Regions from separate parts of the Homo sapiens genome. Here regions 1 and 3 are each linked to region 2. Evidence: promoter capture Hi-C in 16 types of primary human blood cells and fetal thymus (Javierre and others, 2016). All regions are on one chromosome and are shown on one strand. Each heading gives the region's core, a stretch centred on a gene start or on the middle of the fragment in contact. The rest is flanking DNA. Distances are from core to core; before and after follow the strand shown.

Region 1 (2,852 bases), core at 214-2,713, 320 kb after region 2:
AGATCTTGGCTAAATACCATTCTCTACTATAAGGTACCAGGGCTCCCTGGTGAAAAGCCTGAGACAGAAATTACAGGATGAGTCTAGGACTCTTATACTAGAAAGCAAAGAAGCACTGAAACAATGATGGAGACATCTAAAAAGGATACAGGGCTGGCACAGTGGCTCTTGCCTATAATCCCAGCACCTTGGGAGGCGAAGGTGGGCAGATCTCTTGAGCCCAAGAGTTTGAGACCCCTGTCTCTGCAAAAAATACAAAAATTAGCTGGTGGGCTGGGTGCAGTGGCTCACGCCTGTAATCCCAGCACTTTGGGAGGCTGAGGCAGGTGAATCACCTGAGGTCGGGAGTTCGAGACCAGGCTGAACAACATGAAGAAACCCCGTCTCTACTAAAAACACAAAATTAGCCAGGCATGGTGGTGCATGCCTGTAATCCCAGCTACTCAGGAGGCTGAGGCGGGAGAATAGCTTGAACCTGGGAGGCGGAGGTTGCAGTGAGCCAAGATCGCACCATTGCACTCCAGCCTGGGGAACAAGAGTGAAACTGTCACCAAAAAAAAAAAAAAAAAAAAAAAAAAAAAAATAGCTGCTGTGGTGGTGTGCACCTATAGTCCTGGCTACTCAGGAGACTGAGGTAGGAGGATCAATTGAGCCTGGGAGCTCGAGGCAGCAATGAGCTCTGATTGGGCCACCGCACTCCCTGTCTCAAAAAAAAAAAAAAAGAAAAGAAAAGAAAAGAAAAAAAGACAAAAAAGTCAGCTCGAGGTGCTCCCACTTCAAATTAGGGACTGTTTGAGCATCAGCATAAATAATGATAAGTCTGAGGGTAGTGGCTCATGCCTATAATCCCTGCACTTTGGGAGGACGAGGTGGGCGGATCACTTGAAGTCAGGAGTTTGAGACCAGCCTGGCCGACATGGTGAAACCCCGTCTCTACTAAAAATACAAAAATTAGCCAGGCGTGGTGGTGTGCACCAGTAGTCCCAGCTACTTGAGTGGCTAAGGCAGGAGAACTATTTGACCCTGGGAGGCGGAGTTTGCAGTGAGCCAAGATGGGGCCACTGCACTCCAGCCCAGGCAACAGAGTGAAGCTCTGTCTCAAAAAAAAAAAAAAAAAAAAAAAAAATATATATATATATATATGTATGTATATATATATGTATGTGTATATATATGTATGTATATATATGTGTGTATATATGTATGTGTATATATATGTGTGTATATATATACATATATGTGTATATATGTATGTATATATACAATATATGTATATATGTAAGTATATATACATATATATGTGTATATATGTATATATACGTATATATGTGTATATATGTATATATACACATATATGTATGTGTATATAATGATAGCAATGAATTATAACCCCTGAATAAAGTAGAAAACCACAGGTTCATACTGATATATATAAATACATTAATACAGTAAAAATTTAATGAGAAATGAGATACATATGTTGAACATATCTCCACCCCAAACATTAATTCACTATGGGGGCGGGGAAGAGTCACTTTGCAATGAAGGAGCCTGGCAGACACCGCTTTAATCAAGTAATCGAGTGAACATCATGAATAACGGGATAAATCAGCATCTTGTGCCACCCGATAGGAGGCAGTCAGAAGAACACAGCATTGCTTCTGTGATATTCTTGCCAAAGTTGCATAACCTGAATCTAAGCCCAAACTGAGGGACGGTCTACAAAATAAACATCCTGTACTCTTTCAAAATGTCAAGGTCAAGAAAAGACAGATAAATTGTTCTGGAGTGAAGAAGAGATTAAAGAAATATAACAAAATGTAGCATGTAATCTACACTGGCTTTTTTTGTTTTTTAAGAGACAGGGTCTCACTCTGTTGCCCTGGCTGGAGTTCAGTCATGAAATTATAGCTCACTGCAGCCTCAAACTTTTGGGCTGAAGCAATCCTCCCAGCTCAGCCTCCCAAATAGCTAGGGCTACTGGCACTCACCACTGTGCTGGGCTAATTTTATTTTTGTAGGCATGGTGGGAGGTCATGGTTTGCTGTGCAGGCTGGTCGTGAACTTCTGGCTTCAAGCGATCCTCCCACTTTGGCCTCAGAGCGCTGGGATTACAGGCGAGAGATACAATGCCCAGCCAGGAATTTTTTTTTTTTTTTAAGACAGAGTCTCACTCTGTCACCCAGGCTGAAGTGCAATCGTGAGATCTCAGCTCATTGCAACCTCCACCTCCCAGGTTCAAGCACCACCATGCTCAGCTAATTTTTGCATTTTTAGTAGAGACAGGGTTTCACCATGTTGGCCAGGCTGGTCTTGAACTCCTGACCTCAGGTGATCCGCCAGCCTCCGCCTCTCAAAGTGTAAAGTGTTGGGATTATAGGAGTGTAATCCCAGGCCCAGCCAATTTGTTTTGTTTTGTTTTGTTTTGTTTTGTTTTTTAGTCTCGCTCTGTCGTCAGGCTGAAGTGGAGTGGTGCGATCTCAGCTCACTGCAACCTCCGACTCCCAGGCTCAAGTGATTCTCCTGCCTCAGCCTCCCAAGTAGCTGGGACTACAGGCACCCGCCACCATGCCCAGCTAATTTTTGTATTTTTAGTAGAGATGGGGTTTCATCATGTTGGCCAGGATGGTCTCAATCTCTTGACCTCGTGATCTGCCCACCTCGGCCTCCCAAAGTACTGGAATTACAGGCATGAGCCACTGCGCCCAGCCAATTTTTTTAAATTTAATTTATTGAGACACTAAACAAAACTGGAATGAAGTTTGAGGATTTGATGGTAGAGATATATCTAGGTTAATGTCTTGATTTTGATGGTTGTGCTGTGGTTATGTAGGAGAATGTTTGCATGAAAT
Region 2 (2,700 bases), core at 10-2,509:
TACCACCTCCATCTGTCCTCATTTTCCACCTCCCCAGGAGTTTAAGATTAGTGCCTGACAGATCTATGTTAGTGTATGAAGATACAATGTATGTAAAGTTTTCACAAGTCCCTGATAAAATTCACCTGGAATGCTTGTCGGACATATAGGTTCTTCCACTCCACCCACCCCTCTCCTGATTGTGATTTGGGAGGACTGGGGTGAGGCCTGGGACATAAAATCCATACAAACTCTTCAGGTGATCCTTGAGATTAGGCAATGGCTCCGCCACATTAGAGCCTCGATTATTTACCACTGACTATCCCACGTGTTGATAAACAATGTTTCTTATCAGCAATCAGGTGGATTCGAGGCACCCATCTAACCAAGTCAGAAATTGGAAGGAATGAAGTTTTGAACAAAAGAGGAGGAAAATTTTCAAAGCCAAATGCACATCAGATTCTTAAACAGGTGAGGAATTTCTCTCTTCTCTCTCAAATTAGAAATGAATTACTGTGATGCAAAAATCAGCAATACTGATCAACCATACGCTTCACACTTCTACTCGGAAGGTTCGGCAGTTTTCTTTCCAAATCAACCGGAAACGAAATCTTCCACTGTCTCAATTCAACAATAAAGCCTCTCCTACGACTTTGCCAGACACAAAGTGATACCTTCCATCAGACTTCGTCCTCCCTTAGATCACAAGCTAAAGAAGGCGACTGGTTGTAATGGAACACAACCTTTATAATTAGATGGAAAAAGAATAAAAACCGCCATTCTGCCAGCTGTACTAACTTCTTCACTTCAGAAACTGGCTCAACAGTTTCCACTCGCGATTATGAAGTGTGGCACGCAATGAACCCTCAGCTTAGTTCCCCTTCCAGTCACGTCCTTCCCAATGGGAAAGGAGAAAGCGCAGGCTCGCGGGGGGCTGGGCTGGGCAAGGGGAGCGAGAAGCGAGGACTGGACGGAGGCGAGAGAGGAGAGAGAAGGGGCAGGTAAGGTGAAGGGGGTGAGCTGGGGCCAGCACAAGAGGCCCAGACGGCCTCCGCCCCCGAGGATACACGGCCAGAGCTCAGGGACCAAGAGGCGAGAAGACCAGAGCGCGGCGGCTATTACCTGCGTCCGAGGAGCTGCGGCGGGGTTAGGACCGCAGTGAGCTCCTCGCAGCTGCGGCCGCCCACCGACGCACCCCACGCCTGGCCGCAGCCCCAGCCTCTCTGCGCCCAGCCTCGCCACGCCATCTTCCCAACCTCTGCCCCACCATGGCCCGACCTTACCAACCCCAGCTGCGCAACTACTTCCGGGGCGAAGGCAACACCATAGAGCACGAGGAGCAGTCTAGAGCGCCCCCGCGCGGCTGAGCGGCAGCCGAACCAGCCACGGTGCCCGGACGACTGGCTGGCGCCCTTCTGTCCCACCGCTTCCCCTCCCACTGCTCAGCTGGCTCCGGGAGCGACCTGCGAGAGTGGCCCGGCCTCCCGGCATTTGCAGATGAGGAGGATGGGGCCAGAGCGAAGAGGGACAACTGTCATTTTTTCGAGTAACGGCACATACCAGGCGCTTTGCCTAAGATCGCATTTAATCGTCACAGCACTGCTAGAGGTAGATGTCATCACTGTTTCACTTTGCCTCTGGTCAGAGGGGATAGGACTTGCCCGGAGTTGCAGGGCTGGTCCCTAGAGGAACCAACGTGGCAAGCCAAGTTTTCTTAAATTACTACTTTTTTCTGCATCTCACCACTTCGTGTTATTCTGTATGCCTTTAACAAAGTCCAAGCCTATCGGGCGGGGTGGCTCACCCCTTTAATCCCAGCACTTTGGGAGGCCGAGGCCGGCGGATCACCTGAGGTCAGGAGTTCGATACCAGCCCGGCCAACATGGTGAAACCCCGTCTCTACTAAAAATACAAAAATTAGCCGGGCATGGTGGCAGGGGCCTGTAATCCCAGCTACTCAGTTGGCTGAGGCAGGAGTATTGCTTGAACCTGGGAGGCGGAGGTTGCAGTGAGCCGAGATTGGACCACTGCACTCCAGCCTAGGTGACAGAGCGAGATCCGTCTCAAAAAAATTACAAATACAAATACAAAAATTAGCTGGGCGTGGTGGCGCAAACCTGTAATCCCAGCTACTCGAGAGGCTGAGGTGGGAGAATCACTTGAACTCGGGAGGTTGCAGTGAGCCGATATCGTGCCAGCCTGGGCAACAGAGTGAGACCCTTTCTCATAAATAAATAAGTAAATAAACACAAAATCCAAGCCTGAAATGAAAAGCGGGCTTTCACTTTTTCATAATCCATCCCTCAACTACCTGTCAGTTAGCTTGATTCCCTGCCATTCCATTCCCCCCGACCCTAGCTGCAGCCATACAGTCATTGGCCATTACTCAAAGGCACCATCCGCGTTCCCACTGCTGAGCATTCATGCTACCGTTCTCACCACTTGAAACATCTAACCGACTTGTCCTTCAGGTCAGCCTCAAGTGTCACCTCTTCCAGGAGGCCTTTCCCAGACCTCCACTCCAATTTAGATTCCCTTCCTTTGTACTCACATACCGCTTTATGCTTATCTCTGCAATAGCACTTCATTCATTCCATAAGCTCTTATTAAGCACCTACAGTGTGTCAGGTGATATGTTAAACCTGGGGATACAATTGAGAAGACACTATATCTGACCTCACAAAGATTCTATTGTATTGGGGGAGAAGGCTCTGTAGGAGT
Region 3 (2,700 bases), core at 82-2,581, 300 kb after region 2:
CACTGTACTCCAGCCTGGGCAACAAGAGCGAAACTCCTTCTCAAATTAAAAAAAAAAAAAAAAAGAATATAATGAATCTCCATGTCTCATCACCCAGCTTCAACTATGATCAATGCGTGGCCAGTTCCTTAATATCACATCCAGTTTGTGTTCACTTAACCAGGTGTCTTATCAAATTTTTCCAGATAAGGTCCATTGTGGTTGGTTAATGCTCCTCAAATTTTAAAAATTGATGTTTCCCTTCAGGTCTTGCAATTTTGTGGAAGAAACCAGAGTTCTGTAGTTTACCACATCAGAATTTGCCTGTTGTCCCCATGAAGTCACTTAACATATTCCTCTTTACCTGTATTTCCTGTAAAATGGTTCAATATCGGGATTGATGCCTCATGATGGCAATGTTTAATCCAAAGGGATGAATGGGTAATAATGTAATTTTCGGTGCCACTTTTAGAGACCAATTGGAGGAATATTCACGTTAAATATAAAGCAGTAGCATCATTTTGGAGGAAATTCCTAACTTCCCGAGGGAATCGGTGAAAGGAAATAGCCTTTTATTGGCATTTATTGAGTGCAGAGAAGTCTGCTCAGGGTGTAGGTAGGGAATAATTTATACAGGCCACGTTGTCCTGGTTTTCTTGCCCTTTGGCGGTGGATTTGGTCGTGCCCTGGGGTGGTGGAAGAACTGAATGGGCTTAATTCACAAAGGTCGGCTGAATTACACAGTGAAAAGGCGGTCGCGGCGGGGAGGCGGGTGGCGCTGGCCACCAGGCTGAGAAGCCCGTAGGGTCTGGGGACCCGCGAAAGCAAAGCACTGAGCAGGGGGCTTCTGAGAGTCAGGGACCGGGGTGAGTCAGCAAAGCTCTGGGCAGGCTCCAAAATGGGCCTGACTGGGTACGCACCAGCAGCAGACGCGCCTCGAGGGAGCGCATAAAACCTGGCAAAGCCAAAGTGCTTTATCAGCCGCCTGCCTCTTGGGAGGCTCCCACCCGCCAGACCACGGGTGCCTCGCGGCCCCGATAAACCTTGAGCTCCCAGCCTTTGCCCCACCCCTCGCTCCCGGAACTCCACCTCCCAGAAGGCAGCGAGAACCGCACATGTGGCTAATCTTTCAGCGGAAAAGGTGTCGCGCACGCGCAGAGAGCGCGGCTCCGGCGCAGACTCGGCGCCTCTCCTCAAGGCCCCGCTCGCCCCGCCCACCGGGCTCTGCGCACTCCGCTCCTTTCCTGCGTCACCGCTACACATGCGCCTTGCAAGGAAGGGCGAGATTTCGGGGGCAGGGCGGGGGGCGGGCCTAGGCCGGGGTCTCACAGCGACTGCGCGGACGGGTTCCTGAGTGGAACATGGCGACTTGCGCCGAAATCCTGCGGAGCGAGTTCCCCGAAATTGACGGACAAGTCTTCGACTACGTGACCGGTAAGCAGAACTGAATCGGCCGGCTGGGGAGACCGAAGTGGAGGCCGGGGGAAAGTCTAAGCGAGCGTCGTGCCCGGGACTGTTGCCAGGCCTCTCCTCTGCATGACCTCTTGTCCCGGGGGCTGGTTGGGTCTGGAGCCTGGACTGGGGCCTCTGTCTGGGGTCTGAAACTGCTTGTGTGTCCACCCTACCCGATACCTTCCTCGTTCTACCACGCCCTGCCCAGGCGTCTTGCACAGCGGCAGCGCGGACTTCGAGTCTGTGGATGACCTGGTGGAAGCTGTAGGGGAACTATTGCAAGAGGTGTCCGGGGACAGCAAGGATGACGCGGGCATCAGGGCCGTGTGCCAGCGCATGTACAACACTCTGCGTCTGTATGTGCCAGGGAGTAGGGGTTGATGGGGGCGAAGGGACGGCGAACGGTCCGGAGACAAGAGGTGGGGGAGGAAGATCTGATGGCCATAGAGCTTTTCCCTCAACTCCTAACTCTGCGCTTTCTATCCCTACCCACATAGGGCTGAGCCACAAAGCCAGGGAAATAGCCAGGTGCTACTGGACGCCCCTATCCAGTTGTCAAAGATAACGGAGAACTACGGTGAGAGTGAGGGGAGGTTGAACTAACTGCCCCCCTGTGCTTTTCTCCGCCCCCAACCATCTGCTGCCTGCAGCTTAGGGCTCCTACGTCTTTTCCACAGGACAAGGTTGTAGGAGCTAGTTGATGTCTTTACCGAGGGCAGAAGAGCCCATGATGGGGGTGGGGAGGAGGTTGGAGGGTTCTCCCTCCAAGCTCTTGGGTAGGATAGGAAGCATAAGAGCCTGGAGCTGGACAGACTTGCTTTCACCCCCAGTTTTGCAACTTGCTAACCAGCTGCATGATCTTGTAAGAGTTGGTTATCTGTCCCCAGCCTTGTCTATGCCTCTGTATCCTTCTACGTGAGTTTTGTTTTGTTTTGTTTTGTTTTGTTTTTAGTGCAGGGAAGATAATAGCCATCTATCTGCAGTATTATAAGGTTTTGTAGAAAACATCTGTGTCTGTGCCTGGTTCCTATTAGTCACTCAAAATGTTAGTTTCCCTTCCCTCAGGGAGAAGGTGACTGCTTTTCTTATCGCTTACAGACTGTGGAACCAAACTTCCAGGACTGCTAAAGAGGGAACAGTCCTCGGTGAGGAGGAGGAAGCAAGGGAGGGGACTGTCTGTGATGGGGTTGGGAGTTGACTGTCTAATTGGAGTATCTTTTGGGGGGATTTCTGACTATGTCTTTTCCTGAGCCTTTGAGTCTGTTCATC

Evidence for each region. The method cuts DNA at HindIII sites, captures the fragments that hold promoters and counts their contacts. A CHiCAGO score of 5 or more calls a contact.
Region 1: a contact is called between a fragment that was not itself captured here and the fragment with the promoter of PARL in region 2, in 1 of 17 cell types (M2 macrophages). The highest score is 5.4, in M2 macrophages.
Region 3: the fragment with the promoter of ABCF3 here is called in contact with the fragment with the promoter of PARL in region 2 in 17 of 17 cell types (total B cells, M1 macrophages, naive CD8 T cells and 14 more); the score reaches 25.3 in total B cells.

The regions. Positions count from the first base shown.
Region 1 is chr3:184,207,659-184,210,510 of GRCh38, forward strand. No RefSeq gene overlaps it. Among named protein-coding and RNA genes, the nearest start is that of VWA5B2, 20 kb to the right of the region's middle. The HindIII fragment of the contact is 5,192 bases long and covers 1-2,852 here.
Region 2 is chr3:183,883,621-183,886,320 of GRCh38, forward strand. It overlaps PARL (presenilin associated rhomboid like), which reads right to left and starts at 1,260. Exons shown (of 10, transcript NM_018622.7): 1 at 1,102-1,260. The coding sequence starts at 1,226. RefSeq lists silencers at 1,020-1,179, 1,290-1,440 and enhancers at 1,390-1,439, 1,480-1,709. The HindIII fragment of the contact is 9,960 bases long and covers 1-2,700 here.
Region 3 is chr3:184,184,868-184,187,567 of GRCh38, forward strand. ABCF3 (ATP binding cassette subfamily F member 3) reads left to right here and starts at 1,332. Exons shown (of 21, transcript NM_018358.3): 1 at 1,332-1,413; 2 at 1,640-1,787; 3 at 1,929-2,008; 4 at 2,530-2,576. The coding sequence starts at 1,341. RefSeq lists enhancers at 125-839, 1,317-1,636. The HindIII fragment of the contact is 6,180 bases long and covers 1-2,700 here.